Linked DNA regions of Homo sapiens: region 2 is linked to region 1. Evidence: promoter capture Hi-C in 16 types of primary human blood cells and fetal thymus (Javierre and others, 2016). All regions are on one chromosome and are shown on one strand. Each heading gives the region's core, a stretch centred on a gene start or on the middle of the fragment in contact. The rest is flanking DNA. Distances are from core to core; before and after follow the strand shown. Region 1 holds the start of CLGN (calmegin). Region 2 overlaps RNF150 (ring finger protein 150).

Region 1 (3,388 bases), core at 604-3,103:
TCTTCAACTTTGATGTGTCAGAACACTTCACGACTCTACCATTCAGCATTACATTCTGGGACTCCTCCGCTTGTATTATTAAACACTACATCACTCTCAAAAGCCATACCCCTTGTCTTATTTGCAGATTATTCTTTCTCCTCTGACATTATCACATTGTATTATTCTGATGAAAAGTTGCCTATTAAACAAATTATAAATATTATATTCAATCATCCTTTCAATAAGTGGCAAATAATTTTGGAGATATGTTAAGGCCTTAAATTTCAAGGTTAGAGATTAGATTTCATGCTGTGGGTAATGAAGGGTCATTGGAAACTATTGAATGAGCTGAGGATTAAACTACGAAGTGTAGGTGGGAGGCTCTGAAGGGGGGCAACTAGTTAGGTAACTCTGAACAACAGTTTCTAAAGTAGTGAGAATCTAAACTAGAGAAATGGCACAGGGACTGGAGGGGGTGAGGACCTCTTTTAGATGATTTTATGGAGTTAGAGTTTAATTTATGGAGGCAGTGAATGTAGCAGCCAAAGAGTAAAAAAATGTTCTCAAGGTTTTGAGTACTATGTGACCAAGAAGATACTACTAAATCTTGCAAAAATTCACTATTCTTACATTTTTAGTTTTCAGCTTCCTCACTGCAAACTTTGAATGGATCCTTTAAAAAATCCCTCTCTAGCAGTTCAAGTGTATTTGTTATGGGCCACAGAAGTATGTTGAATAATAGAAGTCAGAAGGACGGAAGAAAGAAATAAAGGGTATAATATTGTTACAAAGTATCTCAAACAAAATGTCTTTTTAACCAGTAAATTTTAACACTATCCAAACACTCTCCCAGAGATGACAAAGTCAAAAGTTTAGAAATGCTGGTCTTAATTAGTGAAGCAATGTGAAAAAACTCAGTGATCTTGACCCCTAGCCAATAATGATACGTTGTGCACGGAATGCCACCAAACCCTTAAGATTGAAACTCTTCAACAAGGGTCTTAGACTCACAAGTCAATTAAATGTTGTTAATTAATCTTCCAATAAAATTAAATTGTTATACCAAATTCAAAGTCAAGATTTACTATAAAATATTAAGTAGTAAAATTAATATTGATCCAATATATAAAAGGCAAAGCAGCTTGTGATTGCATAATCATAGCATAAACTACGTTTATGCTAAGATTTATTTCAATGTGTTTGAAACTACAGGCTCTGAGAGAGACAGGCCTGATTTACATCCCGTTTCCACTGTTTACATGTTGTGTAACTTCGAGCAAGTTGCCATCAGTTTCATCACCTGGGTTGCCACGAAGGTTAAACAATGAATGTAAGCCCCTTAGAGCACAATGAACACAATAAATGTTAGCAGCTCTTATTAATAGTGTTGTTCGAGAGAAAAAGAACATATTGTTTTATATACAATGTATTTATTAACACTTAACGCATCTGTATTTGTCATATACACACACCAGACAGGAAAGCTCCTTATTAATCACCATGACTGCAGATCTGTTAACATCTAGAACTCTGGAGAAAACCTAGAGCCCTAATCTTGCTGCACTTATTACTGGACGTTGTTCATAAATATGATTTACATAAAATTCAGGACCCAATCATTGCGCAACAGGAGGTAGCACGGTCTGCAGAGAGGGCGGGAGCTCAGAGGAGGAAAAGTCTTCGGACTTGCAGGGGGAATTCCTCCTGGGCTAACCCGGGAGCGGGGTCCAGGCCACAACCGGCCGGCGGCGGCACAGGCTCCATGTGCGGCTCCCCCTGGAGGCGGTTGAGCCCCTCGGAGCAGGAGCGCGTAGCACACACCTCGGGCCGCCACCGCCTCCCGCCCGCCACCGCACGCGCACGCGCGGTTAGTAGTCGCTGCTGCGCGGCCGCCGGCGGGACTGGTCTGAAGAGACGCGGGGACCAAGTGGCAACGACTTGGACATCTGAGCTGTCACTGCCGAAAACAGGCCGCAAGAGAGGTGCGTGAGCAGCAGGCCGCGTTCCCGCTGTCCCGCTGCCCTTTGCGCGCAGATTGGGGTGAGGAAGCGGAGTCGTTGCTGCTTCCCCCAGGCACCCCGTTACTTTGCCGCCAGAGGGCTGAACCGGTCGGGGCCAAGTGAGGGTGGATGTTGAGTCTGGCGATGGGGCTGCAGCGAGCTAGGGTCTTGACTGGGCTCTGGCGGCCCCGTGGGTGGACGCAGGAGGTGGTGCCACCTGGGACCCTTTGTGTCTTCAGCACCGCCGCATCCACCTGCTGCGCCCGGGCTGGGGCGGACGAGCACGGGGACAGCTAGGTGCCTAGCCCGGCCGGCCTCCCCTGCGGGCTTGAGGAGCCACCGGGAGCCGAGGCCGTTATTCCAGCGGTTGCCATTGCAGCCCCGTTCCACGCTTGAGCCCGGGGCGCTCTCCCAATGGTTGTAGAGGGGGCCCGGGGCGCGTCTGGGCGCTGCTCACTCTGCTGACTGCTCCTTACAGAAACCCAAACGAGATCAAAATAGGCTCGGCTGTCTCAGTCTCCACCTATGTGGAAGCGAAGGGACCCCACTTCACGGCGGTGGGGCCAGGGACTGTTGGCCGCTCCCTCGATACCCGCGCAGAGCCCATTGTGCGCCGCCGGGGGGCGGGCGAAAGGGCTGGGTTGAATCCAGAGAGGCCCTAATTACTAGACTCATTATCGCCCCAGGCCTGTTTACCATCAATCAGACACTTTCGCTGATTTTATTTATAGCATCTGCCCAAGCAACAAAGAGGAGGTGTTTGCTTGGGAGTTAAAAGCAAATGGCAACCAAAGCTCAGGACTGGGAGAGAAAAGGTAAATAACGTGGCCACAGGAAGAAGTCTCAAATTAGAAAAGAGTTCATTAACGTATAAACTTTTTGTTGCTTAAAAGCAGGCAAAATCCCGATCTCATCTGATGATTTTGCTTGTTTTACAAATGTCGACATCACTCGAGGTAGCCCTCCTTTGGGTCATTGTAAGTTTGACCTGTTTTCAGTTTGGAGTTTTGCCTTCACGTCTTATTGGTTTGATCTTCCAGTAACATTTAGATCTCATCTCCAAATCCTCAGAACAAGATATTCTGTACTCTCTGTCTTAGCTAGTTGATAAGGTTAATTATTGTGTGTAAATGATGTAAGTATGTTGATGCATTTGTCTAGAAATTGAAGTGTTGTAAGTTAGCTGTAGTACTTTTTAAGTACCTAATAAATACTGGTGTTTTTAAATAGAAAACTAGAATTATGAACTTTAAAGAATCTTTGGATTGTCTAGTTCACGTCACAAATGAGAAAACAGGCCCACAGCAGTTTTTATCACTTGTCTTTTTAATAATAAAACTAGAAACTTGGTGCGATTGTGCCATGTTGGGTGTACTTTTTATTATATCATTCTACATTGCATTCCT
Region 2 (3,404 bases), core at 867-3,366, 450 kb before region 1:
GTATAACCAGTGGGTCAAAGAAGAAATCACAAGATAAACTGGAAAACGTCTTGAGACAAATGAAAACAAAAAGGTAATGTACCAAGACTTATGGGAGGCAACAAAAGAAGTACAAAGGGGCCAGGTGTGGTGGCTCATGCTTGTAATCCCAGCAGATTGGGAGGCTGAGGCAGATGGATCCCTTGAGCTCACAAGTTTGAGACCAGCCTGGGCAAAATGGTGAAACCTCATTTCTACAAAAAAATACAAAAATTATCCAGATGTGATAATGTATGCCTCTAGTCCCAGCTACTTGAGAGGCTGAAGTGTGAGGATGGCTTGAGCCCAGGAGGTGGAGGCTGCAGTGAGCCAAGATCATGCCACTGCATTCCAGCCTGTGCCATACAGCTAGACCTTGTCTTAAAAAAAAAAAAAAGTACAAAGGAAAGTTTATATCAATAAATGACTACATTAAAAAAGAAAGATCTCAAAGAACCAAACTTTATACCTCAAGGAACTAGAGAAAAGAAAACAAACCAAATTCAAAATTAGCAGAATTTCAAGGGAATAATAAAGATTAGAGCAGATATAAATGAAATAGAGAATAGAAAGACAATGGAATAAAGCAACCAAACTTAGAATTTGTGTTTTGAAAGGATCAACCAAATTGACAGATCCTTAGCTAGACTAATTAAAATAAAGAGAAGACTTGAATAAATAGTTAGACATTAAAGAGGAGACATTACAACTAATGCCAAAGAAATAAAAAATATTATGAGACTACTGTGAATAACCTAGAAGAAATGTATAAATGTAGAAATTCCTAGACAAATGCAATCTGTTATGACTGAATCATGAAGAAATAGGAAATTTCAACCAACCTATCACTAGTAAGGTGATTGAACCAGTAATAAAAAGACCTTTTGTTTAAAACAAACAAACAAACAAACAAACAAAAAAAAACCCAGGACCAGATGGCTTTACTGGAGAATTATCCCAAACATTTAAAAAAGAATTTATGACAGTTCTTCTCAAACTCTTCCAAAAAAAAAAAAGACTGGAGAGGAGGGGACACTTCTAAACTATTTTATGAGGCCTGTATTACCATAATACCAAATCCAGACAAAGATACTACAAGAAAAGAAAATTACAGACCAATATAACCAATAAATATTGATGCAAAAATCTTTGACAAAATATGAGGAAATCAATTTAAACAGTACATTAAAAGATTATATACCATGACCAAGTGGGATTTATCCCTGGAATGCAAGGATGATTCAGTATACAAAAAAAAATCAGTCAGTGTAATACACCACATTAACAGAACAAAGAATGAAAATCACATGATTATCTCAACTGATGCAGAAAATGCATTTGAAAAAATTCAACATGCTTTTATAATAAAAATATTCAACAAACTAGGAATAAAAGAATTCCCTCAACATAAGAAAGGTCAAGTATGAAAAGTCTATAGCTAACATCATTCTAGATGGTGAAAAACTGAAAGCTTTCTTCCAAGATCAGGAACAAGACAAGAATGCTCACTCTTACCACTTCTATTAAACACAGTACTGGAAGTCCTAGTCAGAGCAATTAGGAAAGAAAAAAATATATAAAAAGCATCCAATTTGGAAAGGAGGAAATAAAATTATCTCTGTTCACAAAATGACATGATCTTATATGTAGAAAACTTTAAAGATTCCACATTTCAAATGCTCTTAAAACTAATAAACTATTCAGCAAAGTCAAAGTTTCTAGGTGCAAATTTTTTTTTTCTTTTTGAGACAGGATTTTGCTCTGCCACACAGGATGGAGTACAATGGCACAATCACAGCTCACTGGAGCCTCAACCTGGGCTCAAGTAATCCTGCCAGCTTAGCCTCCCAAATAGCTGGGTCCACAGACATGTGCCACCATGCCAGGCTAGTTTTTTTTCATCTGTAGAGACATGATCTTGCTATGTTGCCCAGGCTGGTCTTGAACTCCTGGACTCAAGTGATCCTTCTGCCTCAGCCTCCCAAAGTGCAGGGTACAAAATTAACATAAAAGATTAGTTGAATTTCTGAACAGTAACAATATGAAAGGAAATTAAGAAAACAGTTCCATTTATGATAGCATCAAAAAAGTAAAATACTTAGGAATAAACTTAATGAACAAGGTGAAAGACTTGTACACTGAAAACTTAAAACATTGCTTAAAAAAGTTAAGACATAAATAAATGGAAAGATATCACATGTTCACGGATTGGAAGACAATGTTGTTAAAATGTCCATACTACCCAAAGCAATCTGTAAATTCAATGGAATCTTTATCAAAATCCCAATGGCATTTTTTTTGTGTGGAAACAGAAAAACAGTCCTAAAACTCATATTTACTCCAAATAGCCAAAACAATCATGAGAAAGAAGAACAAAATTGAAGGCCTCACACTTCCTAATTTCAAAACATATTACAGAGTGATGGTAATCAAAACAATATGGTACTGGCATAAAGACAGACATGTAGACCAATAAAACAGAATAGAGATCCTCATGTATATGGTCAAATAATCCTCAACAGTGAGCCAAGACTACATAGTGGTGGAAGGATAGTGTCAAAAAATGGTGTGGAGAAAAGTGGAGGTCCACATTGCAAAAGAAAGTAATTGGACCCTTATCTTAGAGCGTAAGCATACAAAAAAATCACTCAAACTGAATTAAATACCTAAATCTAAGACCTGAAACTGTAAAACTCCTAGAGGAAAACAGGAGGGGGAAAGCTTCATGGCATTGTATTTGGTAAGGATTTCTTGGAAATGACACCAAATGCACAGGCAACAAAAACAAAAATAGACAAATTGGACTACATTACACTAAAATCTTCTGCACAGTAAACAGTCAACAGAGTGAAAAGACAAGCTACAGAATGAGAGAAAATATTTGCAAACCATATATTTGATAAGGTGTTAATATCCAGGATACACAAAGAACTCCTACAACTCAAATTACAGAATAAATAACCCTATTGAAAAATAGGCAAAGGACTTGAATAGATAATTTTCCTAAGAAGAAGTACAAATGGCCAACAAGCATAAAAAAGATACTTAACATCACCGATCATCAGGGAAATGTGAATCAAAACCACAATGAGGCCAGGCACAGTGGTTTACGCCTGTAATCCCAGCACTTTGGGAGGCCAAGGGCAGGTGAATCAACTTGAGACCAGGAGGTTGAGATCAGCCTGGCTGATATGGTAAAACCCCATCTCTACTACAAGTACAAAAATTAGCTGGGCATGGTGGTGCATACCTGTAATCCCAGCTACTCAGGAGGCTGAGGCACAAGAATTGCTTGAGCCTGGGAGGCAAAGGTTGAGTGAGGTAAGCCAAGATTGTGCCACTGCACTCCAGCCTGGGTGATAAAACAAGATTCTGTTGAAAAAAAA

Evidence for each region. Contacts are between HindIII fragments. The CHiCAGO score rates a contact against its expected background, and 5 or more counts as called.
Region 2: a fragment that was not itself captured here is called in contact with the fragment with the promoter of CLGN in region 1 in 2 of 17 cell types (monocytes and endothelial precursors); the score reaches 6.0 in monocytes.

What each region holds. Positions count from the first base shown.
Region 1 is chr4:140,426,113-140,429,500 of GRCh38, reverse strand. It overlaps CLGN (calmegin), which reads left to right and starts at 1,853. Exons shown (of 15, transcript NM_004362.3): 1 at 1,853-1,964. RefSeq lists an enhancer at 2,647-2,696. The HindIII fragment of the contact is 13,619 bases long and covers 1-3,388 here.
Region 2 is chr4:140,878,178-140,881,581 of GRCh38, reverse strand. The region is part of intron 6 of RNF150 (ring finger protein 150); the gene reads left to right. Among named protein-coding and RNA genes, the nearest start is that of TBC1D9, 120 kb to the right of the region's middle. The HindIII fragment of the contact is 1,250 bases long and covers 1,492-2,741 here.